Linked DNA regions of Homo sapiens: all the other regions are linked to region 3. The links are contacts of gene promoters, found by promoter capture Hi-C in blood cells and fetal thymus (Javierre and others, 2016). All regions are on one chromosome and are shown on one strand. Each heading gives the region's core, a stretch centred on a gene start or on the middle of the fragment in contact. The rest is flanking DNA. Distances are from core to core; before and after follow the strand shown. Region 1 overlaps NAA30 (N-alpha-acetyltransferase 30, NatC catalytic subunit). Region 2 has its middle 87 kb from the start of TMEM260. Region 3 holds the start of ATG14 (autophagy related 14). Region 4 has its middle 3.3 kb from the start of TMEM260. Region 5 has its middle 110 kb from the start of TMEM260. Region 6 overlaps AP5M1 (adaptor related protein complex 5 subunit mu 1).

Evidence for each region. The method cuts DNA at HindIII sites, captures the fragments that hold promoters and counts their contacts. A CHiCAGO score of 5 or more calls a contact.
Region 1: a fragment that was not itself captured here is called in contact with the fragment with the promoter of ATG14 in region 3 in 1 of 17 cell types (total B cells); the score reaches 7.0 in total B cells.
Region 2: a fragment that was not itself captured here is called in contact with the fragment with the promoter of ATG14 in region 3 in 1 of 17 cell types (fetal thymus); the score reaches 7.4 in fetal thymus.
Region 4: a contact is called between a fragment that was not itself captured here and the fragment with the promoter of ATG14 in region 3, in 4 of 17 cell types (fetal thymus, naive CD8 T cells, monocytes and 1 more). The highest score is 7.8, in fetal thymus.
Region 5: a fragment that was not itself captured here is called in contact with the fragment with the promoter of ATG14 in region 3 in 1 of 17 cell types (fetal thymus); the score reaches 10.7 in fetal thymus.
Region 6: a contact is called between a fragment that was not itself captured here and the fragment with the promoter of ATG14 in region 3, in 1 of 17 cell types (total B cells). The highest score is 5.6, in total B cells.

What each region holds. Positions count from the first base shown.
Region 1 is chr14:57,392,058-57,396,827 of GRCh38, forward strand. NAA30 (N-alpha-acetyltransferase 30, NatC catalytic subunit) reads left to right here. Exons shown (of 5, transcript NM_001011713.3): 3 at 4,695-4,770. Among named protein-coding and RNA genes, the nearest start is that of NAA30, 3.9 kb to the left of the region's middle. The HindIII fragment of the contact is 665 bases long and covers 2,984-3,648 here.
Region 2 is chr14:56,490,315-56,494,808 of GRCh38, forward strand. No RefSeq gene overlaps it. Among named protein-coding and RNA genes, the nearest start is that of TMEM260, 87 kb to the right of the region's middle. The HindIII fragment of the contact is 1,437 bases long and covers 939-2,375 here.
Region 3 is chr14:55,410,137-55,414,986 of GRCh38, forward strand. ATG14 (autophagy related 14) reads right to left here and starts at 1,694. Exons shown (of 10, transcript NM_014924.5): 1 at 1,466-1,694. The coding sequence starts at 1,686. It overlaps TBPL2 (TATA-box binding protein like 2), which reads right to left. Exons shown (of 7, transcript NM_199047.3): 7 at 4,074-4,319. The coding sequence ends at 4,243. It also overlaps a transcript of FBXO34 not described here and the pseudogene RPL21P6. RefSeq lists a silencer at 1,684-1,983. The HindIII fragment of the contact is 5,042 bases long and covers 1,110-4,850 here.
Region 4 is chr14:56,574,367-56,578,686 of GRCh38, forward strand. No RefSeq gene overlaps it. Among named protein-coding and RNA genes, the nearest start is that of TMEM260, 3.3 kb to the right of the region's middle. The HindIII fragment of the contact is 280 bases long and covers 2,924-3,203 here.
Region 5 is chr14:56,470,819-56,475,425 of GRCh38, forward strand. No RefSeq gene overlaps it. Among named protein-coding and RNA genes, the nearest start is that of TMEM260, 110 kb to the right of the region's middle. The HindIII fragment of the contact is 3,945 bases long and covers 88-4,032 here.
Region 6 is chr14:57,285,926-57,290,565 of GRCh38, forward strand. It overlaps AP5M1 (adaptor related protein complex 5 subunit mu 1), which reads left to right. Exons shown (of 8, transcript NM_018229.4): 7 at 298-394; 8 at 2,877-4,640. The coding sequence ends at 2,959. Among named protein-coding and RNA genes, the nearest start is that of AP5M1, 19 kb to the left of the region's middle. The HindIII fragment of the contact is 4,333 bases long and covers 1-3,634 here.

The sequences.
Region 1 (4,770 bases), core at 2,066-4,565, 2.0 Mb after region 3:
TACAGTCATTTAATTTGAACATGGTTCTGTTCAGATACAGGCCTTATTAGTCTCTCGATTACAACCATAATCAGGGAAGAGTGTATGCATAAACATGTTGTGGTGAACATGGATGTCAGCAAACTTGGTGTGGTCATATTGGAGAATTAAATCTTACAAGCATTTTCGGTAATTATGGAGATGTTTCTCTTTACTTCAACTGGACAATTAACAGTTGTAGCCAGCCTGCTTTCTGGTACTCCATTCCAGAAAGCGCTACTAACACTTCTGGTGGCTGAAAGACTCCTGAAACTTGAACAAAATACCCTTTTGTGGAATGTAGAAAACTTGTGTGAAATTGTTACCGATCTGATTTTTTTTTTTTTAATTTAAGAAACTGGTTGTAGATGTGGCCAAACACTAGTAACACTGGCTTGTGTAGAGTATAATTGACAATAATATTACACGTAAGTGAAAGACTTTTGGACGGTTTTTAAAAATTAACATAGTATTGGCAGTACCAGTAATTTCTTCACAATAATATTGACCCATTTCAGTCTGTATGAACCCTTTAACTTAAACGTTGACTGCAGGTGTATGCTTTGTATCATGTGCTCACAAGCATATTGTTTCTGTTGAATTTTACTACAGAAAGATGACATCCTTTTAAGGAATATTTTTTAATATGTGAAGGGAAAAGCCACCATTACTTAATGTTTTAGCATTGGCTTAGTTTCACTTGGTAATTCCCTGCAAGATATTTTGACAATACTTATCTTTTTGATTCTCTAGCTTGGTGATAATTTGAAAATGTAACCTGGGTATTGTAGATAATGGTAGTTCTATTTTCTGTCTTAACTTGCTTAAACTTCAATTCAGTACATTTGTTAAAACTGTGGGTACTACTTTATATTCTTGAAAACTGCTCTTTCAGTATTCTAAGCATTGTATCAGAATAGTTCTAAGACATGTCTGTGTCAATGAATATGAGAAAATGATTTATAGCACTATTATAAATGTCATATCAAATGCCACTGTAATTGCTAAAAATTGTAGATTTAGTTGTAAGTTAACCCACAGAAGTAGATGATTGAGTCACATTTCAAGTTGAAATAGATGTTTTTCTGTCAATTCCAGGAAATAGTTGTGTATATGATATTTAGTCAACTTTGAGTCCTGATAGTTACCTAAGCCTCTCTCAACTTGTTTGCTATTTTAGACTCTGGTCAACAATATTAGTAAACTTTAGATTTGATTTTATGTAGAACCCTCCCAATTCACCAGCTAATGTGTATGTTAGCCTTTAGTAGCTCAAGTTTGTTTAATATTCTGAGTATCTAGAATTGCGATATGCACAAGTGGTTGACCTATAAGATTTACTGGTGCAAGTATGAATCAGGAGGTATTAAACAATAATAAAACAGTAAAAAAACAACCAGGCCATTTAAAACTGAAGCCTTTATCTTGGCATACTTTTAAATTTAAGTTTCCCATAGGAACTATTTTTTTAAAAATACAGATGCGTAAATGTCTGTTTATTTTAAATCATATCCTTTTAGAACTGAAAGCCATCCTAGAGATAATCTAGCCCAACTTAGGTTTTGTTCTGTTTTGTTTTTTGATTGAAAAAAAGTTAAGAACCAAAGTGACTTAAAATGTTTCAATCTCCAGATATTTACTGACAGAGGGGTAGGTTTTGTTTTGTTTTTTGATTGAAAAGAAGTTAAGAACCAAAGTGACTTAAAATGTTTCAATCTCCAGATATTTACCGTCGGAAGGGTAAAGCTAGAACCCAGTTCTCCTGGCCTCTCATTATGGTAACAAACAAGAACCTGAAAAATGACATACCCTTGATCCATTCAGTGAAGATTATTGTGTCACCAAGTTATCTTCACCAAGGGACAGTTGCCCTTACATCAATCTCAAGAGATTAAAAACCTCCAAAATGTTCCGTTTTCCGTGGATAACCTGTAATGGGTCAATGGAGTATATGGGGTTGAACCTTACAAAATTGCCAATACTTGATTAATAAAAATGATAGCTTATTATGATTCTTCCTAATTGTAAAAGATGTAAAAAAAAAAAAAAAAAAGGACAAATGTGAGACACTTTCAGTTACTCTGTACTTAACCATTTTATCTTTACCTGTTTTCATAGTAACATTTTCAGTTGTTGGTATCTTTTTGAAGTTCTTAAACTTACTCTCAGCAAATGTAACATAGTACTTCCATTTATTTGTTCTAAATTTAACTTTTTGGCTTCCTCCAGTTTTCTATTTGTAGTGTTCTAGAATTTGGGAATCTCTCACTTTATTTTTTTCATAGTTTTATAGACTGACAACCCTTTGGCCTTGTAGTGTTAAGTCTTAATCTTGCCGGGGATTTTTCAGTTCCCATCCTTGAAAAAATACATTTAATAGCGTGAATTCCAAATGTATATGCAGAGCTTTTATTTGGAAAAATTGACAAGCAATTTAGTGATTCCTGTAAATGTACCACATATTCATGAGTAGTTTATCAGGAAAAAAAAATGCAGCATTGGTCTTCACTACTAATGTCATCGTAATGGTGTATGATATATTGGGCTTTTTAGATGATGTATACAGCTTGATTTTTGCTCCTATAGATTCTAAATTAGGAAGAAATCAGGTCTTAAGAATGAACTAATTTAATATTTTGTTTGCTTATTCCATGCTCAAAGGACAAAGATTTGTTTGAAATTCCTGTTCAGATTGAAAGTACTGTCCAGTTGTATTGTGTTTAATGGTTTTAATTTTTCCTCATTTTTGGATAGTTTTATATAAGGTGTAGCTATTCTGAGGTTTGTATCATCAATCTAATACAGGTTTTCATTTCACCTGAGCCTGGCTTATGAGGTCAGGCCAAAATTTTTTCTGGCCCTTTTAAATATACCATTTGGTCTGTGATAATTTTATGTATGTGTATGTATTTATACGTGTCTGTATATACGCACATATATTTGAAGTGAGTTTCAAATCAGAAAAAGCTTTCAGAGTTGGTCGAGGCGATTTTTGTGCATACTTCAGGTCTTTGTTTAAAAAATTTTTTTAAAAGATTGATGTATTGTGAGGGAAAAAATTAGAAATAACAATTTCAGAGGTTTATTGACCCAAAATAGTTTTGGAATGTGTGATAAACCAGAAATGAATTAGCGTGGGTTGTTGAATTTCATATTCCTTCAAAAGGATTTTTCCGACCTAGTTTAGGTTTGCATGAAATGGATTAGAATTATCTTGCTGAAAAGATTTCTCCACAGTTAAAAAAAGGCCTTTTAATCAATTTACAGAATGACAGACTAAAAAAGTCACAAATTTAAAATATGTATTAATTATAAATTGGACATTACTTATTAGTTTTTTGACTCATTTCTGCTTTTGTTGAAATAGTTTCTTCTGGAAAGTTAATTTATGGAAAACAGACTTCTTACTGACACATTATTTAAACAGTTGGAGATACTGCCCTATTTATATTTACCAGAAATACTGTGTTACTAGAACTTTTTATCAGCATTGGAATTTTTGAAAAACATTTTCAATGGTAACACTAGAAATCTTAATGAAAATGGGGGATGATTAGAATTTAACATGTAGCTTTTAATACTCTGGAAAGCTGTACGTTTTTATTAAAATAGAAATTTCTGTAAAATTAAAGCTTTTAACATAAAGCTTTGATTTTGAACTATAAATATTCTGAGAGCTTTATGACAGTTATCCACACTATCAGGAGTATCCTAAAAATGAGACTATGCTACACTTACATATATTAACAAAAACCTCTTGGGTATGGTCTAAGCAATACCTTATAAACTGTGCTTTTTCTGAAAATTTTTAATTTTTTTTTCCTGATCGAAATCTACCATTCAGGTGTAAATATGTATTATATCTGGCTTTCACTAAAACTTTATTATTAAATTTATTTTCATTTTTTTCTTTTATTGAGATGGGGTCTCACTCTGTCACCTAGGCTGGAGTGCAGTGGCACGATCTCAGCTCACTGTAGCCTCTCCCTTCCTGGCTCAAGCCATTCTCCTATCTCAGCTTTCCAAGTAGCTGGAACTACAGGTGCATGCCACCACACCTGGCTAATTTAAGTAATTTTGGTGGAGACAGGGTTTTGCCATGTTGCCCACGCTGATCTCAAACCCCTGAGCTCAAGCAATCTGCCTGCGCCTGCCTCCCAAAGTGCTGGGTTTACAGGCATGAGCCACAGCACCTGGCCATTATTACTAAATTTAACTGAATATATTTAAATTTACATTCTGCTGATGGGCAAGTTTTACAATATTTTATGTCCTAATGAATAGACTTTTTCTTTATAATCATTTTTTTTTTGCATATTTCCCCTTCCAGAACCTTAGGTCTTTGTTGCAAATAATTGTGATTTTAAGCACCTCATATGTAATCTTATAAAGTACTTGAATGTTTACCTTGTGGAATCTTGTCTTTTTTCCCTAGGCTTTAATAGTAAGCATAAAAAATTCATGTTCTAAAGAATATTGAGAAATTTTAACACTGGAACATTTAAAGGAGTTAGGGGATTTAGATTTCTGAAACTTCTGTGACTGCTGTCTTGCAAGAGTTCCCATTATCTTCCCCCGTCGAAAATGCTTACCAATGGTTGGTTGTTGTTTTCTCTGGATAATTGTGCAGTACCTGATGGCAATGTATTCTTCATAACTGTTTGTTTATTTTTAAGGCCATGGTAGGGGAGGAGTGTGTAGGTGCCATCGTTTGCAAGTTGGATATGCACAAAAAGATGTTCCGCAGAGGTT
Region 2 (4,494 bases), core at 407-2,906, 1.1 Mb after region 3:
AACCACTGTCTTCCACATAACTCTATTTTAATTCTCTCCAGGGCATATATCACTAAGATTTTTCTTATTTAAGTTTTAATTTTCTGTATCCCCCCATTAGAATATATGCTCCTTGAAGTGAAGACACTGGCTTATCTTCTTTGCTGCTGTACCCGGGCAGAGCCCAGAGCTGTACATGGCACAGAGTAGCTGTTCAATAACCCACTGAATGAATGGAGGCAAATTCATCCTGCATTGGATTTATATCACTATTTATCATATCATGCCGCTAGAGGGCAATACATCACCTAATTAGAATGAGGAAATCAGTGTCCCTTTCTTCCAAAAGGAACTTAATTGATTTTTAAAATTTATATATATGAGGTGTACATATTTCGAGGGTACATGTGATAATTTGATACATTCTTATAATGTGTAAAGATCAAATCAGGGTAATTGGGATATCCATCACTTTAAATATTTATTCTTTATGCTAGGAACATTTGAATTATTCTCTTCTAGCTAGATTCAGGTGTATGATTGAGCTTAATTGATTTTAATCATTAATGTGACAGACATTTATTTAAGAAAAACACTCTGAAAAGGAGCCACTAGCTTTTCAAACCAACCACCAGGCACTGCCCAGGAGAAAGAAGTTTTTTCCAGGGTTATAAGTGGTAAAATAGTTTTAAATAGACTCTGTATTATTCAGGTTAAAAAAAAACTCATATAAAATGAGAAAGCATTCATGTCCATGATATGAAATTGTTTGGGAAGTCAGAAGGAAATTAAACAATGCCTTATTTTATCCATCTTTTACACACATACACAAAAATGTATTTCTTGGCCACTATTCTTATTTTTGCTTTTTAAAGTTCGAACCCTGGACATCTCATGGGAGTAGGGATTCTGAAAGAGATTTTCTTTTTTTTTATTTTTATAATTCCATTTCTTTCCTAAGCTTTTCTTTTAAAGTAAGCAGCATGGTGTGTCTAGGATATGTCATTGAGTGCTAAGACATCCATGTTCCTGCTGACAGGTCTGCCTCGTGGTAAGAACAGCGAGAGTGACTAAGCTCCAGTGATAAGGGCAATGCTGTTTCTTGAGCCTGCTGCAGCACCTGTCATGGGAGGCAGAGAGAGCATGCAAATCCCTCAGGCCCATGTCTGTTCAATGACAAAAGGAAGGAGGATGCACTATTCCCAGTGACCTCAAGATGGCAGTGGAGAAATACTCCAAATGAATTTCCTGAGGTCACCCCCCGATCCAGCGAAGGACCACTGTAATGGTTGGTTAGCTATGAGGACAGTTTCAGCGCCACATCGGGTCAGTTACCATGACAGCTGGAAAGCTCTCCTGGAATCTATGAGTTTCTAGCTGTCCTGTCGCCAGAGATGACAAGTGACTTATAAAGGAAAAGTTTGAGCCTCCCTAGAAAAACCTTAAATTTGTTTTTAATGTTGCTGACATGACTTACTGTGGCAGAAAGGCTTCTCAGTGTGAGTGCCTATGGCCATGGGATCTTGATTGGTCAGATGAGGCTGGGACCTTTGCATTTCCAGGGCTTTGCTGGAGTAGGAGAGTGGCCTCAACTTTTCTCAGCACTTAGGAACAATGAGAATGGTTTAGGGCACCTACCATGGGCTTTGGGGGATGTATTAGTCCGTTCTTGCACTGCTATGGAGAAATACCTGAGACTGGGTAATTTATAAAGAAAATAAGTTTAATTGGCTCATAGTTCCACAAGCTATACAGGAAGCATGGCTAGGGAGGCCTCAGAAGACTCACAATCATGGCAGAAGGGGGAGGGGAAGTAGGCTCTTCTTATGTGGCCAGGAGGAAGGGAGATGTTGGGGGGAGGTGCTACACACTTTAAAACAACCAGATCTCATGAGAATTCACTCACTATTACAAGAAAAGCGAGGGGGAAATCCGCCCCCATGATTCAACCACCTCCCACCTGCCTCTCTTCTAACATTGGGGATTACAATTCAAAATGAGATTTGGGTGGGGATACAAATCCAAACCATATCACAGAAGGAAATAAGATCAGCTTTTGCTTATTTCCTTAAATTTTGTTGAGTACGGCAGGGTCTATTGAATCCTCACATCTAGTACAATAGATTACCAGCAGCTCAGGAAGAAGGATGCAAAAGGCATGAGAATGACCCCCCTCTGGCCTCCTTCAAGGAGGTGAAAGAACATTATCTCCTACACCCGTGTTCCAATTTTCAACCACAAAAACACACATATGTATGTGCATTAGCAAACACTCACTTGTTGAACACCTACAAAATAGTTATTATACTCATGGAGTCAAATGGAAATGATGCAGAATTAAAGTTATGAGAGGTATCAACAAAACGTTATTGAGAATTCAAAGGACAAATGCCTAAAGCTTTGATTAAGAGGAAATTAGGTAATATTTCATGGAGTAAAGACTGGCCATAAAAGACTGAGTAGGATTTTAGGTGGATGGAGTTGGGTGGTGAAAGGGAGGGCATCGCAAACCAGAGAAAGAGAATAAGCAGAAGTATGAAGGGAAGATCACTCTGAGTGTGTCCGATATAGATAGAGTACAGGCCTAGTATGGGAAGTAGCAGGTGATAAGGCTTTAAAGCAGTGGTTCTCAATCAGGGGAGATTTTGCCACCCAGGGGACATTTGGCAATGTCTGGAGACATTTTTGGTTGTTATAACTAGGTGAGGGTATGTTATTGACATCGGGTGAGTAGAAGCCAGGGATACTGCTAAATACCCTACAATGCACAGGATGGCTTGCCACAACAAAACTTATCCAGCCCCAAATGTCAATAGTGCCAATATTGGGAAACCCTTTTTTCGGGAAGATTGGTCTTGGTCACAGAAGACCTTGAAAATCAGGGGAAGGGAAGGGAGCTTACTTGGTAAGCAAAGAGAGTACAGAAGATTTTTAAGTGGGAGAGTGAATGTGTTGATATTATGATTTATGGGCATTATATGGATATAGGTACAAATATAACCTTTTCCCTCCCTCATCTTCTAAGGAGAAACCTTATTGGCACTACTTGGCTAGCCAGCCTTTGCTGTGCTTAGAGGGTAATAGGTAGAGATGCAGAATTGCAGAAGCCCAGGTAAACTAAATTAATCTCCATGTAAAAGGACATGGAGCCTCCCAGAGAAGAAAAAATGCAAGAGGTGGAGATGAGAGAGGCAAGAGAGATGAGTGAGAGAGTGAGGAAAACAGCACAAGATGCAGTTACAAAGAGGGAGCATCAAATTAGGTCCTGTGGGGAGATGCTAAAATAAAAAACCTTGCTTCTGCCCTTACTGAGCCCACCATCTCCTAAAGATGATGATCTTACATTAAGTAAGTCCCTATTATTCACAGAGGAAAGTATACAGTCATCTCTCCATTTGCCGGTTCCGCATCTGCAAATTCAAACCAACTATGGGTTGAAAATGTTTTTTAAAAATAACAAAACAACAATAAAAAATACTACAAATAAAAATACAGTACAACTATTTACATAGCATTTACATTTTATTAGGTGTTATAAGTAATCTAGAGATGATGTAAAAGTTATGTGCAAATACTGTGCCATTTTATATAAGGGACTTAGAGCATCCCTGAATTTTGGTATCTGCAGGGATCTTGGAACTAATCCCCAGTGGATACTGAGGGACAACTGTGTGTATTTTCACAAGGCTTTGTCGTTTCTCGGAGCTTTCACTGATGAATAAAATCTAGGTGATCTCAACTCAGGGGTAAAAGTCATTTTTGGCTGCTTTCTTTGTGGGTTTTTCTTACATAGAGCATGAAAGAAAAAACTCACCGAATCTATCCAAGTCTAGGATTAAATTATTTCTGTCTTTCGGGCTGAAGATGGATTTGATGCTGATGACTAAAGATAGCCAGTTGCCCCTTGTTACAGGTGGGTCCTCACAAATTTGGCCAGTAGAAAGCTGCAGTGGAGACACTGTTAAGACTGCAAGAATATCAGTTCCTCATGTCACAGTCAGCTGCTCTGGTCCATGCACCTCTGCCAACTTCCAGTGGCTAATAAGCTTTTGGCCCAGTGATGGAAGCAATGGTGCCAATGACAAATATAAACAAGGTCCTCTGCCAGGAGCAAAAGCTGAAATCTTTCTGGTAATTGCAGCCTGACATGTGCATGGCCCCAGGATCGTGTGCCATCTCCACCACAGTCATTTACTATCTGTCGTGGCTCCAGGGACCTCATACAACATAATGGCTGCCATGGACACCGCATTATCCTGAATATGCCAGGGCAAAATGACATCATTCTTTTTGTAACTCCCCAGAGTTGGGAATGAATGGATATTAGGAAGGACATCCACAGAGCTGGTCAGTCAAGAATGAAACCTATGCACCAAACTGAGAAAAGCTGTTGATAGAGGAATTTTAAAGAAGGAATAGGGAGAGGACTACTTCTCTGTTTTTAGCTGGAAGTTCTATCATGTACAAATGCTTTTGATCACTACTTACAGCATGTCCAGCAATGATGGCTTGAAA
Region 3 (4,850 bases), core at 444-2,943:
GCATGGGAAAACAGATTTATGATGGAAAACAAGGAGTTCAGTTTGCCATATTAAAATGAAGATATCTATTACAAATCTAAAAATATTGATGTTGAATAAGCAGCTGTTTTCTGGACTTTAGAGAAGACTAGGTTGGAGATACAAGTCTGGCAGTCTTAAGCATATAGATGGTATTTAAATTATGTGAATAGACATAGTAAAACGTGTAGACAGACAAGAAGGTCCAGAACCAAATCCTCGATTCACTCCATCAGTTAGACATTTCCATCTCATACCCCGTATTCTTATAACTGGTTTAATTTTTAAAGCTATCACTTACTACATAAGCAGTTTCTAAAGTCATCAAGAGCACCAATAAGACACAGCAACAAAACTAAAAAAGAGTTTGTCATTCAAACCTCCTCAAAAGAGAAAGGAAAGAACTCCATCCACGATCACAGAAATACTAAGAACTCAAAACATTCCCAAATATAGAGGATATAAAGTCTAGTGGTTAAGTGCGGGTACATAGGTCCAAGCTGTCTGAATTTTAATTCTTGTACCAACACTTAACTATTTGTGTGACCTGGGGCAAAGCACTTACTGTGCAGCTTCCTAATAAGTTGGGGATAAGTCATTCGGTTGTTGCGAATGAATTAATACCTGAATTTTTGTGCTCAGAATGCTAGCTATCTTACTATCATTGACTATCATTGACACTAAATTGTTGAAACATAAGTTGAGAGTGGGAGATCCTGCAGCTAATCACACTAATTTTTCAATTTTCTTAACCAAGAACTTGTAGCTGTTTAGATTTCGAAATGAAACCAAAACATTTTCCTAAAGGCAATTCTCTTAACTAAAAGCATGCAGCTCCCAATCTGAATTTTAAAACAAGGCCAAAACACGTTCCCAAATTCCTAAGAATCTAAAATAATCTTTAGAGGCAGGGAGGGGAAAGGGGCGTTAACAGCAAGCCTCAATTCACACATTAGAGTAAGCATGTCTGATAACAAAGTCCATCTGTGACAGACTACCAGGCCCAAATCCCTCTAAAGCAGTTATTTGATTCTCTTCTACTCTCTCCTCTAGAGAATGAGTATAAATATGCTTTCGAAAATAGAAAGCCAAGCTTTTGAATGGGAGTACATACAGCAAAGAGCTGGGAATCTAACTTAATGGCAGCAACGGGAAAACTTCTCCAGAGAGTCACCACTTATTCCTTTTTTCCCCAGTGACCAAGAGCACCGTGGGGTCAAACTCCTCTTGGGTGGGTGATGGGGAAACGGCGACCTTCCCTCATCTGGCCCCTACGCTGTCCTCTGGTAGCAAAGCTCCGGTGCAGAGCAGCTAGCTACACTCCCTCTCTCTCGCTCCTCTCGCTGGTATCTGGTGCCCGGACGGGGAGCCCCAGGTTCCAGCCTTCGGCTGCCTGGCTGGAGGACACACAGCAGAAGAAACAATAGGGCCGTGGCGGCCGCCGTACCTCTCCCGGTCGCGGCCGTCGAAGTAGACGAAATCGCCGCTCTGAACGCATTTGGCGCAGGTCAGCCGCCGGCGGGTAGTGTTGCACAGCGGGCAGCGCTCCACAGCCACGTACAGCCCCTCCGCATCGTCCACGGAGTCCACCAGGTCCCGGGCGAGCGGCCGGGGCCCGCAGCCAGGAGCCTCCAGCGCCCGGGCTCCCTTCCCACTGGGAGACGCCATGATGGCCTGAGAGGAGAGCCAGTCACGTGGGATTTTGTTTTCAACCGGGTGCATTCTGGGCCAGGAGGAGGGGCCTGGGGAAGGGGGGCTGGGATGCCGGCGAGCCCCCGGACCCCTCCGCCGCCGCGTGTTCCTGTCCCGGGCACTGTTGTTTTTCCGGTCTGCTGAGGGGCAACAGGTCCCGAAGCAGGGGGAGAGTTATATTAGAGGGGCTAGTCGGCCAAACAAAATGTCATCTGCTGGCTCAGGCCAAGACTACGAGTTAAAGCCTCAAACTTGTGCAGAAAATTGTAATACCATACCCTAAGGATTCTGGGAAAACGGAATGGGAGCGGAATAAGGGAATTTAACTTGCTGTGGATGCTTTAAAATCTGGCTAAACTACAGCAAACAAAGTAGGGTGAAGGGGCTGGGTCTTGGAACTAGGTTGAATTTTGGCTCACTCACCTGCTTAATAGCTGTGTGACTTGGGGCAAGTTCCTTAATCTCTCTGCGCCTGTTCTCTCGTGTTAAATGGATAGAATTATAGTACCCATCTAATGCCGTGAGGATTAATATGGTTAATAGTATTATACTTTACCAATAGTGAAAACAACCAAAGTGAACGTGCAAAATCAGAATTGTATCCTTCTGAAAAGTTAATCACGTGGCTAACGTACCTTCCCTACCCTGGGCCATGCTCTAAGAGAATTTGAACTAGGTAGATGGTTAGGACTTCCCTTCAAGTTTCTTTTGGTGGATAGGGGATATATAAGGTGATGTGTTGGGAGGATCATATCAGAGTAATTAGTGTTTGAATATGCCTCTAAACTACAGAGAAAAGTGAGTTTATAGGTGAGATTAAATAGACCAGTGATTCTCAAGGATGATTTTACTAGGCTATCTACTGATAAACTGCCCTGAATTCTCTCTCTAGCCAGGATTCCTTTCTCAAGTTCCATACCCAAAGATCCAGAACTACTTACTAGGTATCAGGTGACATTCCAGGACACCACAAACTCAAAGTGTTGGAAACTGACTTCTGCCTCCCTACAAACCTGTTTTCTTACTTTGGTAAAGGACGTAATCACTGATGATTTACAGCCAAGAGCCATGATTCATATTAGCCCGTCCCTCCCTGTTAATCTCCACATCACCATCGAAAACTGGTGATTCTACAAGCTAATTAGGTCTTGAATCTGAGCCCTTTGCTCCTCCGTCTTCTTAATCTTACCCAGTCTTTTTAAATACAAATCACGTAGGATTACAAAAACAAGCAAAAGCAAAAATTCTCTATATTCAGAATACAGTTTACACTAAACTTGAATGGTTCCTGAAAGTTTAAGATTTATTTTTAAGTGAGAAGTCTTTCTCTCTGATCATTTCAAACAAAAGGATTATTTTTTAAGGTCTCGGGCTTATGTTTCATTTGTATTCAGACAGGATCCTTCACAGTGCTTAATACCTAATGATCAGGATCAACTGTTCAATATTTTAAAAGGCAAAAAATACACATTAATTCCTATCGTGCTAGATGATATCACAGATAGTATCTAGCTTATGCAGTTATTTGAAACTCCTATATGTTGCTATATATTTTCAGAGAACGCATATTAATGTATTACTTAACAGCAGAGCACTGAGGTTTTTGGATACAAAATGTAGTTTAAATATTTCTTTAAGGGGAGGGGGCGGCGCCACACTTCTCAATGAAGAGAAACATTTGTACAGTTCAGAATTTTTTTTGACACCTATTATGCCATGAACTCATAGGGAATAGGTTCCAGCAGCCCAGGCTCCCTCCATTGGTTCTAAGTGCTTGTCTGGGTGGAGCAGGCTGGCGCTTCAGTTGAACTCAGACACCTCTCCCTTTGACGTCTTTTTCTGATTATTTACCTTCACGCGTTTCAGGAAACTTACTTGGCTCTTAGAGTGCCAAGGCCCAGGCAGATGGATCAACTGAGGTCAGGAGTTCAAGACCAGCCTGGCTCAGTAAGCACATTCATTCTCTTGGCAAAAATCTTGCCCTTGTTTACAATGCCAACAGCATGCTGGGTAACACTGTAGACTCTTCCAGCTTTGCTGTGGTAACATTTGCGGAGCACTCCTTTTTGAAAAGCAGCCATTCCCTTGATGTCTACAATATCACCTTTTTCGTAGATTCGCATGTATGTGGCCAAAGGAACAACTCCATCTTTTCTAAAAGGCCTAGAGAACATGTATCAGGTGCCTCACCTCTTTCCCTTTGTGTTCGTCATTTTGGCAAATTACTGGAAGATGGCCCTTCCGGCTAAAAGGAAACGCATTGAGTCTTCATGATGCTACAATATCATTCTAGTGAGACCCTAAATCTCTCAAATTTTGAAATGTTTACTTGTTCAGTTTTTAAAATAACACAAAAGGAGTCATTTTGAATAAGAATTTTTCTTCGTTTCTTAGGTTACTTACACAGAGTCGCCCTTTAATAAGTAACGTACTTGTAACATCTACAATTAAACGTAGAAGAATCCAGCTGTTTCTGTGCTGGGCTTATGGACATATTCAAACCAGAATAATGTGAGATGCTGAATGATATGCTCAGGCTTTTTTAAAACCTTTTAGAATAGGATAGATGTTTTCAAATGCTTCATAGATCTCAGAACGTTCTTTGGCACCTATAAAGAAATCCAGGTTTATATAATTTTTAATATAAAAATACCAACATTTACTTAAACACTAAAATTTCATTGTATTGTCTCCAATTACTTTTAATATGACATCTCTTTAGCTGTACCTGAGAAATGGCATTTATTCCGGGTAAATAATTTGGCAACTACAGCCATATTTCCACAAGACAGAAACCTTAGAGCAGAGTTTTCTAGAACTTCTCTGTGGGTGTCATCTTTGCTCACACAGTGCTCAGTATGAAATGTGGAATGTTATCTCTACATGTGCCATGAATATGGCCTCAGAGTAATTTCATCAGCACCTGCGGGCACTTAGCTACCAGCAAAAGGGACTTCTTTTGATCCACGTCCTCTCTAGTTAACATCTTGATTCCCTAATATTGATAACAGATGGAGACAAATGAGCTTTAAATTTGTTTTAAATTTTAGTTTAAAATTCTAAATTTAAAAGAGTTTTAAATTTTAGTGCATGGGAAGGGATTATTAGAGGGGAAAACTGTACTACTGTCACTCGTAAAG
Region 4 (4,320 bases), core at 1,814-4,313, 1.2 Mb after region 3:
ACACACTGGACATTATATATAAAACAAAGATAATAAGACTTCAAAATGTGAAGAAAAAAAGGCAGTTGAGGCAGGAGCTCTGAAATCTGAAGAACAACAGAGTGGTGAGGTCCCTGGACTTCTTTTTCCCCCTTATATCACAGATTGGTTGCTAAAGAAGCTAGCAACCCAGAGATGCCAATGGGCCCAGACAAAAAAAAAAAAAAAAAAAGCCCCAACAAAAAGCCTCGTCCCTCTAGCTAAAAGACCAAGAAAGGGGCAAGACAGATACATTTAGAAAACAATCACTCTACTGTAGCCAAAACCAAAGAATAAACCATGAGGAAGGCTGAGTGGGCAGCCTAGACTTCTACCCTCTCCAGGTGCCTCCACATGCCACCAGGGTCATGTCAAAGAAGGCAAAGGAAGAAGCCAGAACTTTCATTCTGGTTGGGTGGTAATGAGACCCCTCTTCTCCATGGTGGCAGTGGAGACCACGTGGGGATCTTTGACTTCCACCCCTGCCCAAAAAGAATGAGGTCCCCCTTTCCCTCCCTTCTGGGGTAGTATCAGAGGCAGCCTAGTGAGAGTCAGGACTTTCACCACTGTCCAAGGAAAAGGAGGCCATCTCCATACCCCCATAACCATGTGGTGCTAGTGGAAACCACAAGTGGAATAGTGACGAGGACTCCTTTACCTTGCAGCAGGGAGGCAGCAGTAGAGGCCCGGCAGGTAGGTGGAATGTCCACCTCTGCTCAGCAATAATGAGGAGCCATCTCCTTGGTTTCAACAGAAGCTAGATGCTGGCCATAAATCCCAGGAAGACTCCCAGAGCCAAATTTAGGGTACCATAGGGCCATGGATCTATGTATTTACTTTCCGTCAATCTGATGTTCTATATCTAATTGAGTGTTCCCTGGCCTCTGTGATGTTCTTCGAATGTGTCAACTTGGCTTGGCTACATTCCTCAGTTTTTCAATCAAACACGAATCTTGGTGTTGCTGTGATGGTATTTTGTAGATATGACTAAAGTTCATAATTAGTTGACTTTTTTTTTTTCTCCAAGCAGAGTCTTGCTCTGTCACCCAGGCTGGAGTGCAGTGGCATGATCTTGGCTTACTGCAGCCTCTGCCTCCCAGTTTCAAGCGATTCTCGTGCCTCAGCCTTTTGGGTAGCGGGAATTACAGGTAAACACCACCACACCTGGCTTTTTTTTTTTTTTTTTTTTTTTTTGTATTTTTAGTATTGATGGGGTTTTGCCATGTTGGCCAGGCTGGTCTCGAACTCCTGGCCTCAAGTGATTCTCCCACCTTAGCCTCCCAAAGTGCTGAGTTTACAGCCATGAGCCACCATGCCCAGCCTCATTTGTCTTCAAAACCGTGAGATTATCATAGTTAATCTGGTAGGCCTGATTCAATCAGTGGAAAGGCCTTAAGAGCAGGGATATGGGTCCCCTGATGAAGAAAAACTTCCAGCTGTGGACAACAGCTTTCTGCCATGCCCAGGAGTTCCAGTCTTCCCTTCCTGATGGCATGTGCTACGGGCTTCAGAGTTACTTAGCCAGCCCTCAAAATTACATTATACAATTCCTTGCAATAAATTGTATCATACATATCTCCTACTAGTTCTGTTTCTCTGGATGAATCCCAAATTATTTACATATTTTTCTGCTTTATGGTTTGTATTATAGTGGCTAACTCTAAGCCATCATAGAATGATGTAGAGCACAAACAATAAATCAATACTCGTTATATGTCTTATTGGTCTGTCTCAGGATCAAGTCCAACGATCACATGTTTACACATCATGTGTAAAGAGAGACATCATGAGGTCTCTCTCTTTATCTCTAACATTTTCTATCTTCAACCCTTCTCTTCTGTCCTCCTCAGTCCCATCCTCTCCAATAACCTGTACATCTTTACTTCATCACTATGTCTCTCCAAATACTCCCTTGAGTTACAAACAAAACAAGACATTCAAAAATCTTCATTTGACACTTCGATCCCTGTGAATTTTCATGCTATTTCTCTCTTTCCCTTCACTGCCAAACTTTTTGCAAATGTATTTTATTTTCATGTCTTCCATTTGCTCACTTCTTAGCCCACTAGTACCTTGTTTCTGTAGATACTACTCTACTGAAGCTGACCTCTTGAACTTTCAAGGTTCAAATACCTCCAGGTCACCAAATCCAACCATGCAGAGCCTGCTAGTTGCCCCTCAGTATCCATTCTCCCCTTCTTCCTTTGTAATAGAATTCTAGGCAAACTGTCCAGCTGAAAAGTCTATTTCGCAGCATCCTTTGCCCCTAGGAGTGACCTGTTATTCAATTTTGGCCAATTAGATATAGCAAAATTGTGGAATAGCATTTAAAAAAATAGTGCTTTTTTAAAAAAGCTGGAGCAGGCCTTTCTCTTCCCATCCTTTCTTTTTCTTCCTCAAGAACAGATGTAATGTCTGGAGCATTAGCAGCCACCTTGGATCAGTAGATGACCTTGAGAATGTGAGCTGAGTGGGATGGTGCAGAAAGATATGAGGACTTCAGCTGTGTCCCTAGTGGAATCAGGGAGTTGCCAAGCCAGTGGTAGACTGACTTCCTATAGACTTCTGACTTCTTTTATATAAGAGAATGATTGTTTTAATGTTTAAGACACTGTAGCAGGATCTGTCACTAGTAGCTAAATGCAATCCCTAACGGATATGCCAGTGATCTCTGATTGTTCATGTATTCATTTATTACATAAATATTTGTTTAGCACCAATTTTGTGCCAGGCATCATTTTAAATATGGTGGAAATTAGACAAAGTCCATCAGGTTTGACAGGCTATTTAGACATAGAAATGGAGAGGTCGGGGGCAGTTGGGTTTTTTAAAATAATCGGTCGCTAAAAAAGAGAAGCAGAGGAGGTCTAATTTTGAGAAATATTGCCCCATAGTTGCCCTTTAAAGCTTCAATATGATCATCTCGGGAAAGAAGACAGAAAGAGAGAAAAGTCTAGAACAGCCCAGGAATACTTCAGCATTTGGGGGACCGACAGAAGCAGAGCCAGGGCAGGGAGGCCATTGATAAAAGGAAAACCAAAGAGTGTGCTATCAATGAAGGCCAGAAAAGAAAATACTTCCGGGGAGGAAGGAATAGTCAGATGCTTACTGAGAGGTAGAGTCAGACATAAACAGAGAACTGGAAGTTCTTAATCTTCAAAGGAAAACAACCATGAAGCTAATGAAGCTTAGGCCTCACAGTTCCTCTCTAGCCCAGGTGTCTTCCAATATCTTGTGCCTAATTCTGTATCTGCAGTTTTATATCAGTTTACTTACATATAATTCTCCAAGTTTTATACACTTGAGCTTCACAAAATCTAGACGTGCCTCTCTTCATTGTCCTTTACCTCTCTGTAACATCCTGACCACATGTACTTCATCGACTTTTCTTCTTTAGCTTCTGGTGATGCCTCATTCTCTTACACTGTTCTCTCCCCTTCTCCAGCCATTCCCTAAATGAGAATATGGGCTGACATTAGACCTCAACCTTGTTCTCTCTACACTATCCCCTTATCAAGTTAGTCATTTATATCATCCTTACACGAGCAACTCCTAAATTTGTACTTCCAGCACTGATCTCTACCTCCCAAACATGGACAAAGAATTATTCCCCTCCAAAATAAAAAAATTTTAAATAAAACTCATGAGCAAAAGTGAAATGCATAAAAAGGGAAAGAAGTATATGCTTGACCCAGTCAAGGTTACTCATTGGCATGTTCTTTCAGCAAAGAAATAGAAGACAGCCTATCTTAACTATCTATTGCTGATAACTAACAAATTAGCCTGCATTTATCAACTTAAAACAACATTTATTATCTCGCGGTTTCTATAGGACAGCAGTCTGGATGAGGCTTAGTTAGGTCCTCTGCTTCAGGGTCATCCACAGGCTGCAATCCAAGTCTTGACAGGAGTTATAGTTATCTCAAGGCTTATGTGGGGGAAGGATCCACTTCCTAGCTCCCTCACATGGTGTTGCCTAGATTCAGTTCCTCTAAGGTTGTTGGACTGAAGGTCTCAGTTTCTTGCCAGCTGTTGGCTAGAGGCGGCTCTCAGTTTCTTCCCATGTGGACCTTTCCACAGGGCAGCCTACACCATGGTAGGTGGCTTCATCAGAGAGAACAAGTGAGAGGACAAGAGGGAGTGCCAGCAAGATGAAAGTTAGTCTTTCATAACCTAATCTTGAAAGTGACATCCATCACTTTTGCCTTATTGTATTGATAGAAGCCAATCCTTAGGTTAAGCTCACACATAAGGCGAGCAGCTTATACAGGAAGTGAGTGAGGAGGCAGGGTTATCTGGGAA
Region 5 (4,607 bases), core at 810-3,309, 1.1 Mb after region 3:
TCTCTGTATGATTTCTTTGGCTATAATCCGCCTCAGTGACTTCTGTGATTTTCTCAGTGGTTTAGGCTGCAGTGGAGCCTGAGGCAAAGCTTTGCTGGGGATGGGGATGACATGTGGGCCAGTCTTTAGGAACCAGTGGTGGCAGTGGCAGGCCTGGTGTGCCAGTCCTTGGAGGCCTGGGAGGTGTATGCTGGCACTGGCAGTGGCAGGTCCAGGCAGGCACATCCTTGTGCCTCCAGGCGGCTTGCTTAGGTGCAGGCAATTGCAGTGGTGGGCTGGGAAGGTGTGTTCTCAGGCGCCTGGGAGATGTGCATATGGCGTCAGCAGTGGCAGTAGCAGTGGGGGGCCAACCTTCAGGCCCCTGGGTCACTCACATGGGTGCCAGCAGTGGTGGCAGCAGGCTGAGCAGACCAGTCACCAGGTCCCCGGATGGGAGCTGGCAGCGGCAGCAGCAGGCTGGGTGAGCATGGTCCAGGGGTGCAGCAGCGGGTAGGATGGGCCTGTCCCTGGACAGTGTGTGCAAGCTCCAGTAGCGGCAGCAGGTGAGCCTATCCCCAGGACCCCAGATGGCATGTGCATGGGAGCTGGTGGTAGTAGCTGGGGCGGGCCAATCCCCAGGCATCCTGACAGCTTGTGCAGAAGTGTGGTGGCTCTGCTCCTGGAGGGGCTAGGGTTGGTGTCAGTACCGCAGCCTAGGGCAGGAGGCTCTCAGGCTCTGGGGGGCACACATTTTGGCTCCCTTGGTCCCAGGGGCAGCCTCCGTGGTGCACTGCACCTGTTCTCTGGGGGGTAGGACACTGTGTTGACCAGACTGCTGGGTACAGAGCTGTGCCACTGGGACTCACCACAGTTGCAGTACTGTAGCTCTCAGGTGGACATGAGAGATCCCAGTGTGGCGCTGGGAATATGGAGATGCAGGGGCTGTGAGCAGCCAGGACAGGATGGAGTCTGGTGAGGGCTGCGCTCTCAAAATATTATTGTGCTGCAACTGCTTGGGTAGGGGAGGGGGATTGGGACCCAGCACAAAATCCCCCCGCAGAACAATGCCGTTATGTGGCCTCCAAGCAGCTCCCATACTAGTCTCAGGGCCCACAGGGGCCTAAGGGCTTTCCCATAGCCAGGATTGCAGAGTTCACTGTGGGAATGTGGACCACTTTGGATCTCTCACTTATCTTTCGCCTGCCATTGGGAATTTCTCTTGGCTTCAGGATGCTTCGCTCCCCTCTCCTTACAAGCCTCAGAAGTGCTCTGTCACTCTCTTGCTCAATTCTGGGGTTCTCTCTTGAAGTTCTGTTCGAGGTATGGTTATCTTCTTGCTGTTTTGGTCCTTCTTGGTGGAGGGTCTGGTGCCTGGTACCTCTAGCCCGCCATGTTCCCATCACTTATCCTCCCCAGCTTTTAAAACAGTTTGGAGGGTTTAGTGGTAATCCTTTTGTTTTTGCTGTCTGGCCTGGAATCCATTAGCTTGGGTGGTCCTGAATCTATATTGTTAAAAATCTATATGTATCCTTTTCCTTGCATCAATAACAGATTTTAGAAGTTTTTTTCTTTATTTCGTTTTTTTCATTTTTAGTTAGAAAAGGATATGGTGCTAGCAGCAGGATAGAAAGAGATAAAAGGCATTCACACAGCTTTTTAGGAATAAATGCCTGGAAACTCTCCAGATTTATCAATTGCATGGTTCCATTTTTATGAGAGTATTTTTAAAATTCTTTTATCATATAGGAAAGTATTTGATGTTATATGTTTTCCAAGGCACTTTTAGACACCTGATCTCATAAGATCTTTATAAGGAGCTTATTATTATGCAGAGTGTGTATTATTTTCTCTTACTTTCTTCCTTCTCTTTGCCCACCCACCCACCACAGTCTCCTGCCCTGAAATTTAATGATGATAACACTGAAATAAAGCATAGCCAGAGAAATCCCTAAACTGGCACAGCAGGCCAGTGGGGGAGCTCAGATTGGATCTCTGGCTTCCTAACTCTTAGTCCAGTGGTCTTTTTCTTTGGAACTGTAAATAAATTCTTCCACCAATGTCCATGTCATTATTCTTTGCTCTCTATTTGCCATGATCTATAGTTTTGGTGGCTCAAAATACATTATCTTCCTGGGACTGGCTCTACCAAGAGCCAAGGACATTTGTGTTGGAGCTAGCAAGGGCCACAGTTAAATGGGTGAATGAACAGGCTGGATGGAAGGACTGTGGTGGAGGATGGAGATGCCAACCTTTCTCAGAACATGAGAAAGGTCTTCCTGTGTCCAGAGTTCTGTCCATTGCACTCACACACTCTTTCCTGGCTCTCCTCTTTTCTTCTCTGGCTACTTCTGTTTTGTTTGCCGCCATCCTTCTCCACCAGGCACCTAGTGTGAGTTCCCCAAGGCTAGTCTTAGTCCCCATTTCTTTCCCTATACTCTCTTCATATGTGGATTCAACCAGGCCTTTTCTTTTCAAATGTCATCTACATGCCAATGGCTCCCAAATCAATTTCCACTCCAGACCTCTCTGTGCTCTGTCCCTTCAATGTAATTATGGACTTAATATTTCTACTAGGATGTCTCAAATTCTCAGAATGTTTCAGATAGAACTTAGGATCTTCCCTCCTCCCCCAAATTGGTTTTCCTCCAGAATTTCCTTTCTACCACACCCCATTGCACAAGTCAGTAATCCTTGGAGCTCCTCTCTCCCTCACACTCTATAGTCTGTATATAATCATGTGCTCCCATCGGGTGACTTTGACAACTTCCCACTCCATTAGCCCACCCCCTAGTCTAAGCTACCACCATCTCTCACCTGGACTGCAACAGCTTCCCACCTGTTCTACCCAAATCCACTCTCGTCCCTCTCCTACTCATTCTTTACACCAAAGTCTATGTTGTGCATCACTGTTCAACCCCCTGACTCCCTGTGCTGAGGCCGCACTGGTCTTTTAGTTCCCTGTAGCAAGACATGTTCCCATGCCTCCTCTCCACCCCCTCCCTACCCCACAACCACCATCGTCACAGGGCCTTTACTCATGGTCTACTGTATGCCCAGAGACTCCCCACCTCCAATCCACACACATACACAGCCATCTAGTTACCTCCTACTCATCCTTCAGACCTACATCACTTTCCCAGACCCAGGTCATGTTCCTTCATTAGAAACTTGTCTCCAGTCATGTTCTGGACATGTGTATCTCAGATTTGTAATTACACTCCTTCACTCACTTAACAGCTCTTTACTAAGCACCTACTTTGTGCCAGGTACTGTCCTAGGCAACTGAATAATTAGTCAAGCAATTGAAAAATAAATGCTTGAGTATTTTCTGTTACTCTCAAGTACTAGGAAACTGAAAAAATACAATATAATTACCACAGGTAATTACATTCTATGAATAATTAATTACAAGTTCATTTCTTTATTTATCTTTTTAATATCATTCCCACTCTAGGCCCTATGTTCAATGAGAGCTGGAACTGTGTATATTCTGGTCGACAAGTATCATCAGCTCTCAGTGTAGTGCTAATGCCTAGCAGGTACTAAAACATTTGGGAAATTAATGAATATTTACATTTGTAAATTAACAAGTGAATGAATAAATATAATTTGAATATTATAACCTGGCTTACATTGAACTTGTGATATTTTAATGTTTAATAAATATTGTGATATACAATTCGAAAACAATTTCATGTGTAGGCGGCAAGACAACCTTTCCCCAACTTGCCCATTAACCTGTAAAAGATGTGAATAGTTACTCCCTTCTCCCCTCACTTTTGAGAAGTGGTTTCCGAAGAGCTAGCTGAACTTTGCTGCCATCTTTTGACCAAAGTTAATACTGCAGAGATAAAAGCTACATTCCGTAGAAATTCTCATTACAGCCTCTGAGTATCAATGAGTTCTAGCTTTGTGTAAAAATGCAAGAACGTGTTGCCACTTAAGAGGAAATACATGGCCACACTCGGTGCCTACTTCTATTATATGTTTCTTTCTTTATTTGCATAGCTATCTTCTATCCACTCTTTCTTCTGTATCCCAGCACCATGGTAAAGCTTAATAAATATTTTTTTATGTGAATATTCTAAGCGAACAGTAAGTGAACAACAATTTAATATCAGGACGTGCAGTGTACAGACACCAAATAGACATTAGTTATTATTATTAACATTATCATTATTAAGACCCTTCCCCTGCAAAGTAGATGACTTCAGGAAGACTCTAAGTTCCTACTTGCTTGTGGACACCTACCCCAAACTTTGTCTCTCTCTCTCCTCTCTTCTTTCCTCTCACCCTCCCCTTCCCTGGAAGGCCCATGAAAATTACTTTTCATTGCTATCTTAATCCCTTAAAATATATAAATACAGGCCGGGAATGGTGGCTAATGCCTGTAATCCCAGCACTTTGGAAGGCCAAAGCGGGCAGATCACTTGAGGCCAGGAGTTCAGGACCAGCTTGGCTAACATGGCAAAAGCACGCTAATAGTTGTCTACAAAAAAATACAAAAATTAGCCAGACGTGGTGGCGCATCTCTGTAATCCCAGCTACTTGAGAGGATGAGGTGGAAGGATTACCTGAGCCCAGGAGGTGGAGATGGAGGTTGCAGTGAGCCGAGATCACACTGCTGC
Region 6 (4,640 bases), core at 218-2,717, 1.9 Mb after region 3:
CACTCAGCATACCTTGCAGTATGGATTAGAGCTGTTAGTGAAGTGCGTATTATGTGTTAAGTACTTCATAATGACAGCCTTACAAAAAAATGGCCCTAATGCAAACGGAAAAAAAAACTGTGTGTGTTTTTGTATATATATGTGTGCGCACACACACAATTCAAGTTTAGTACTTGTGGTTTTTATTTTGTGAACTGTGTAAAATAAATTCCCTAAGACTGGGTTAAGGGAAAAAATGTAACCATGCTTTTTACCAAATAATCACCTTAATTTGGTACATTTCTCTCTTCTTTCTAGCTTCATTTTAGGATCTTAGATTACACACTTACTGGATGTTATGCAGATCAGCATTCAGTTCAAGTTTTTGCATCAGGAAAACCAAAAATAAGTGCACGTAAGTTACACAGATTCAAACTAACTTAAGGGAATTAAAATGGTGTTTGCAGTTATTACCTAAGGTAAAATTTGAATGTAACAGAACTTAGAGATTAGAGAATAATCCCAATTTATAAAATTCTGGGCTGATTCTACCCCACATAACAGTTTGTGTACTTTACACTGCCCTCTGCCGCCTTCTTGTTTATAAAGTGGTCTGGATAAGCAAAGATTGGGATAGAGGGGAACTTCAGTGTAAAATTGGATTTGTTTTTCTCTGGTTATTCAGAGATGTGATTCACAGAGACTGTGATGTTGGACAGACAGGGCTTAAGCCTGGCTCAGCCATTTCATTAGCTGTATAACTTTGGGCAAGTTAGCGAACTTCTTGAAGTTTTAATTTTCTTGTGTATAAAATGGAAATAATAGTGCGATTTACCTCAGGATTGTTATGAGGTTTAGATAAGATTATATTGACTTAGTATGATGCTTAGTGTATAGTATAGATTTAGTAGATACTAGAGATGATTCTTATTTAAAACTTTTAAATATCTTTAGCAAATGTTGCAATCAATAAGCATTATTTAGCACCTTCTCTATTCTATCAATAGGAAGACAATAAAAAAGACGTTTCCTGATTTTAGTATGTTTAATGGTTGGTAAAGTATAGATCTATATGTGTGTACACACACACATACACACACACACACACACACACACACACACGAAACATATGAAAATATGAGACAAAAAACAATTTATAAATGAATCAAAAGTATTTAATTCAGATCAAATAGAAATATGTAACATCGAATAGTAGCTAAAATGAGGTAGAGTTATCTAAACTTAAACAACCTTTTTGCCTCATACATTAAGGAGAATAAAGCTGTTATATATGTGGATAAGAATAATCCCAATTTACACACATTTTTATTATTATAGTTAGATAAATATTTCTTAAACTAAGGATTAGGGTTCCTAAAATAAAAAGAATAGGAAAGGACTCTCCATGTACATTTCAAGAGAATTAGAGAACTCAGAACTACAGAATTCTAAGCAACTATTTGTGCTTGTCAATATAATTTCTACTATGTAATGTAACCAGAATAAACCAGTATTCTTTACTTCCCTAGGCTTGCCCTGTGTTTTCTCTTACATCATTTTTTTGTTGTATATATGAGAGACTGAAAGCAAACAGACCAGTATTTTAGATTGTCTATGGGAAAATAATTTATTTATGTTAACTAAACATACTGCAGTAATTTCCAGAGAACATAATACAAGATAGGAACATACCTGCTTCTTAATACAAAATATGTTGAAAGAACTCATTTTAAATTAATATTATGACCCATCTTTTCTTTCCTCTGTTAGTTTCAGAATGTGACTGCCAGTTTGTGCAATTATGTAAAACTTTATTTTGCCATCATCTTGACAATAAAATCTATTTTCATAATATACAACTTAGTTTAAAAATAGTTTAGTAATAATAATACCAATTTAAATAATAATGGCTAATATTTATTGCTTACTATATGCCAGGCAAAGTTCTAAGTGTTTTATGTGCATTGTCTCATTAATCCTCACAGCACCCTATGTAAGTGTTGTTATCTCCATTTTACAGATGAGGACACTGATGGAACTGAGAGATTAGGGTCCCATAGCTTGCAAATGGCAGAACTGCGAGTCAGATACTCAAGCATTCTGGCTCTGGAATCTGTCCACTTAACAGTATGCTGTCTTGCCTCTCATTGTTACTGCGTTCTCAAACTTTGAAGAGAACAAAAAAGACAATATAGTCTATATTCTTTTCATTATGAAGAAGGGCATGAAGAAGAAAGGTAGAACAGGCTGAATTGGATAATTATATTTAATTGGATATTTAATTATATATATATATAAAGAATTTACATGTGTAACTCCAAATGAACATTATTATCTCAACTTTACATATCAGAAAACTTTAGTTCAAATAGGTTGCCATTTTTGTAGAGTTTCAAAGCTATTTTTAAAAAGGCTTAAATTGATCAGAACTATAATAAGAAACCAGTGAAGCAAACTATTTAGAATGTTGCTAGGAAGTTAGGTGTTAATTTATATCTCTGACACTTTGGGTAAAGAATAGCAAGACCCAGAATCAGGGCTATGGTGATAAGGTTATAGAAGAGAAACCAATGAAAAATTTTTAATGTTTTTGCAGTCAGAGTAATGGTCCATACGAAAAAGATTTTAGAGAAAATGTGAAGATAAAATTGGCAGATTTGGCATAAATGAGAGATATTTCATATAAGGTCAAAGATGGATTCTTCAAATATTTAATGAGTCTATATTTGTAAAATGGTAAAAGTTATAATAAAGTCTTGATAATATGAAATTAAAATGAATATTTCAAAGTATTGACTTGAAATAACTGCATTCCACAATTTCAAAAATCATGACTTTGCTCTCGTTGAATTTTTGCTGAAATAGTCTTATCATTAATTTCTTTTTCTTTTCTTTAGACCGGAAACTAATTTCTTCTGATTATTACATCTGGAATTCTAAAGCCCCTGCTCCAGTAACATATGGATCATTATTATTGTAATAGTCTCATGTTTAAATGGGATTATATAATGATAACAGTTTAAAGAAAATCATAATCTTATATTTTTAATGTGGATGCATATAACCTGTGAGTGAAAAATCACTGAATGATTTAATTGTAAAAGTAGTCTTATGTGGTGTTTGTAGTCTGATAGAGCTTGAAAGGACATTTTAAAAGCTAATGTCTCCAATTTTGTTAACCTTCGATTTTATGCCAGTATAATTCAGAACATAGAAAAGTAATGATTCACTTGGGCTCATTTTAGACTGGTCCTGGGTCACCCTGCCACACTTGTTTCCTAGTGTTTCTGTGGCAGACATTGCTAATCAATTACAGCCCTTTTCTGTACTGAGCCTTGGATAAAGGGTCAGGCTCCTTTTTAGTTCAGAGATTCAGGCAGCCACTCCCAGTGGGTTGTAGATAATGTGCAAGATAAAAACTATTTTCTCTTCCAAATCTAAGTACTAAGCTCCTAGTATAAGGTGTTGTTACAGAATACCAGAGACCATGTTAGAGACAACTACATCTCTTCAAAAAACAGCCAACAGAGACAAAGGAAAAGTGTTTAAATAGTAAGCTGTTCTTCTTAATCAGAACTATCCTATTGACTAATAAATAATCTGCATAATTCTACTTAAGGTGTGTAATCTCTGTTCTAGAGTTAGTTTTTAAGTAAGCTTGTTAATCTGCCACTTTGACATTTTGCTTAGGATGTCAGTAGCCATATTAAGATGTGTAGAATACCTTCAGAAGATGATCATAGTGTTTTGTAATCATTTAATGTCTGCAGCCAAATTTTTAAAGGTAATTTAGACCTAATACTGCTCTTGCTGTGTCTTATTAAGTTAAAATTAATGAATGAATTCTGGTAAAAATTCAAAAGGCACTCTGTGAGTAGAGAGTATCATTTAAGCTTATTTTAGTCACATGTAGTATATATCTCCTTAAAGCTGTCACTCTCACTTTCTTACCATTCTCTTGATTTCTTCAGAAACCATCTAGTCATCATCTTTATACTCTACCTGCTTCTGCAATTATATATCATATTATGTTTTCAGAGCAGTTCATTGTCAAGTTGGACTTTAAGTGACCATTCAAGAAAAGATGAAATCTCACGAACCTCAAAACTTCATTCATGTCTTTTTACAAATGAGAAAAAAAAATGCATTAAAGATTAATACTCAATTTGATTATATCTTGGGTTCTGTTTTTTAATGAGTGTTCTAAGGAAAAGCTTAGAAAAGCTGCTAACTCCTCAGAAGAAAGCATGATAGTTTAAAGGTATAGGGCATATAAATTTAGGATTTGAAATATGATTTTTTAATTAAGGTCAGTCCTACTCATAAACTCATTTTCTGCAAAGCATTATCATGGCATAAGGTTCTATGTTCAAAATTATCCCAAGTAACAAAGAAAAAAAGAATAACTGCCTGACCAGGATTTTAACTTGTTATTCTAGCTTAATCATAGATAATCAGCAGTGAAAACTTTCCTTTTGAAAGAAGAAAATATCATTCCCTATAAGTTATTTGATCTCTCTTAAACTCAAAGCTTAACATTTCACTTATGTTGATAAGTTAATGGTAATGGAGCCATTTGGAATCTTGATTGTATAAATGTTTACCAAATACACTAAGGTAAGCAAGAGGCATTTATCTAGTGAGTAGGCAAAGATTTAATA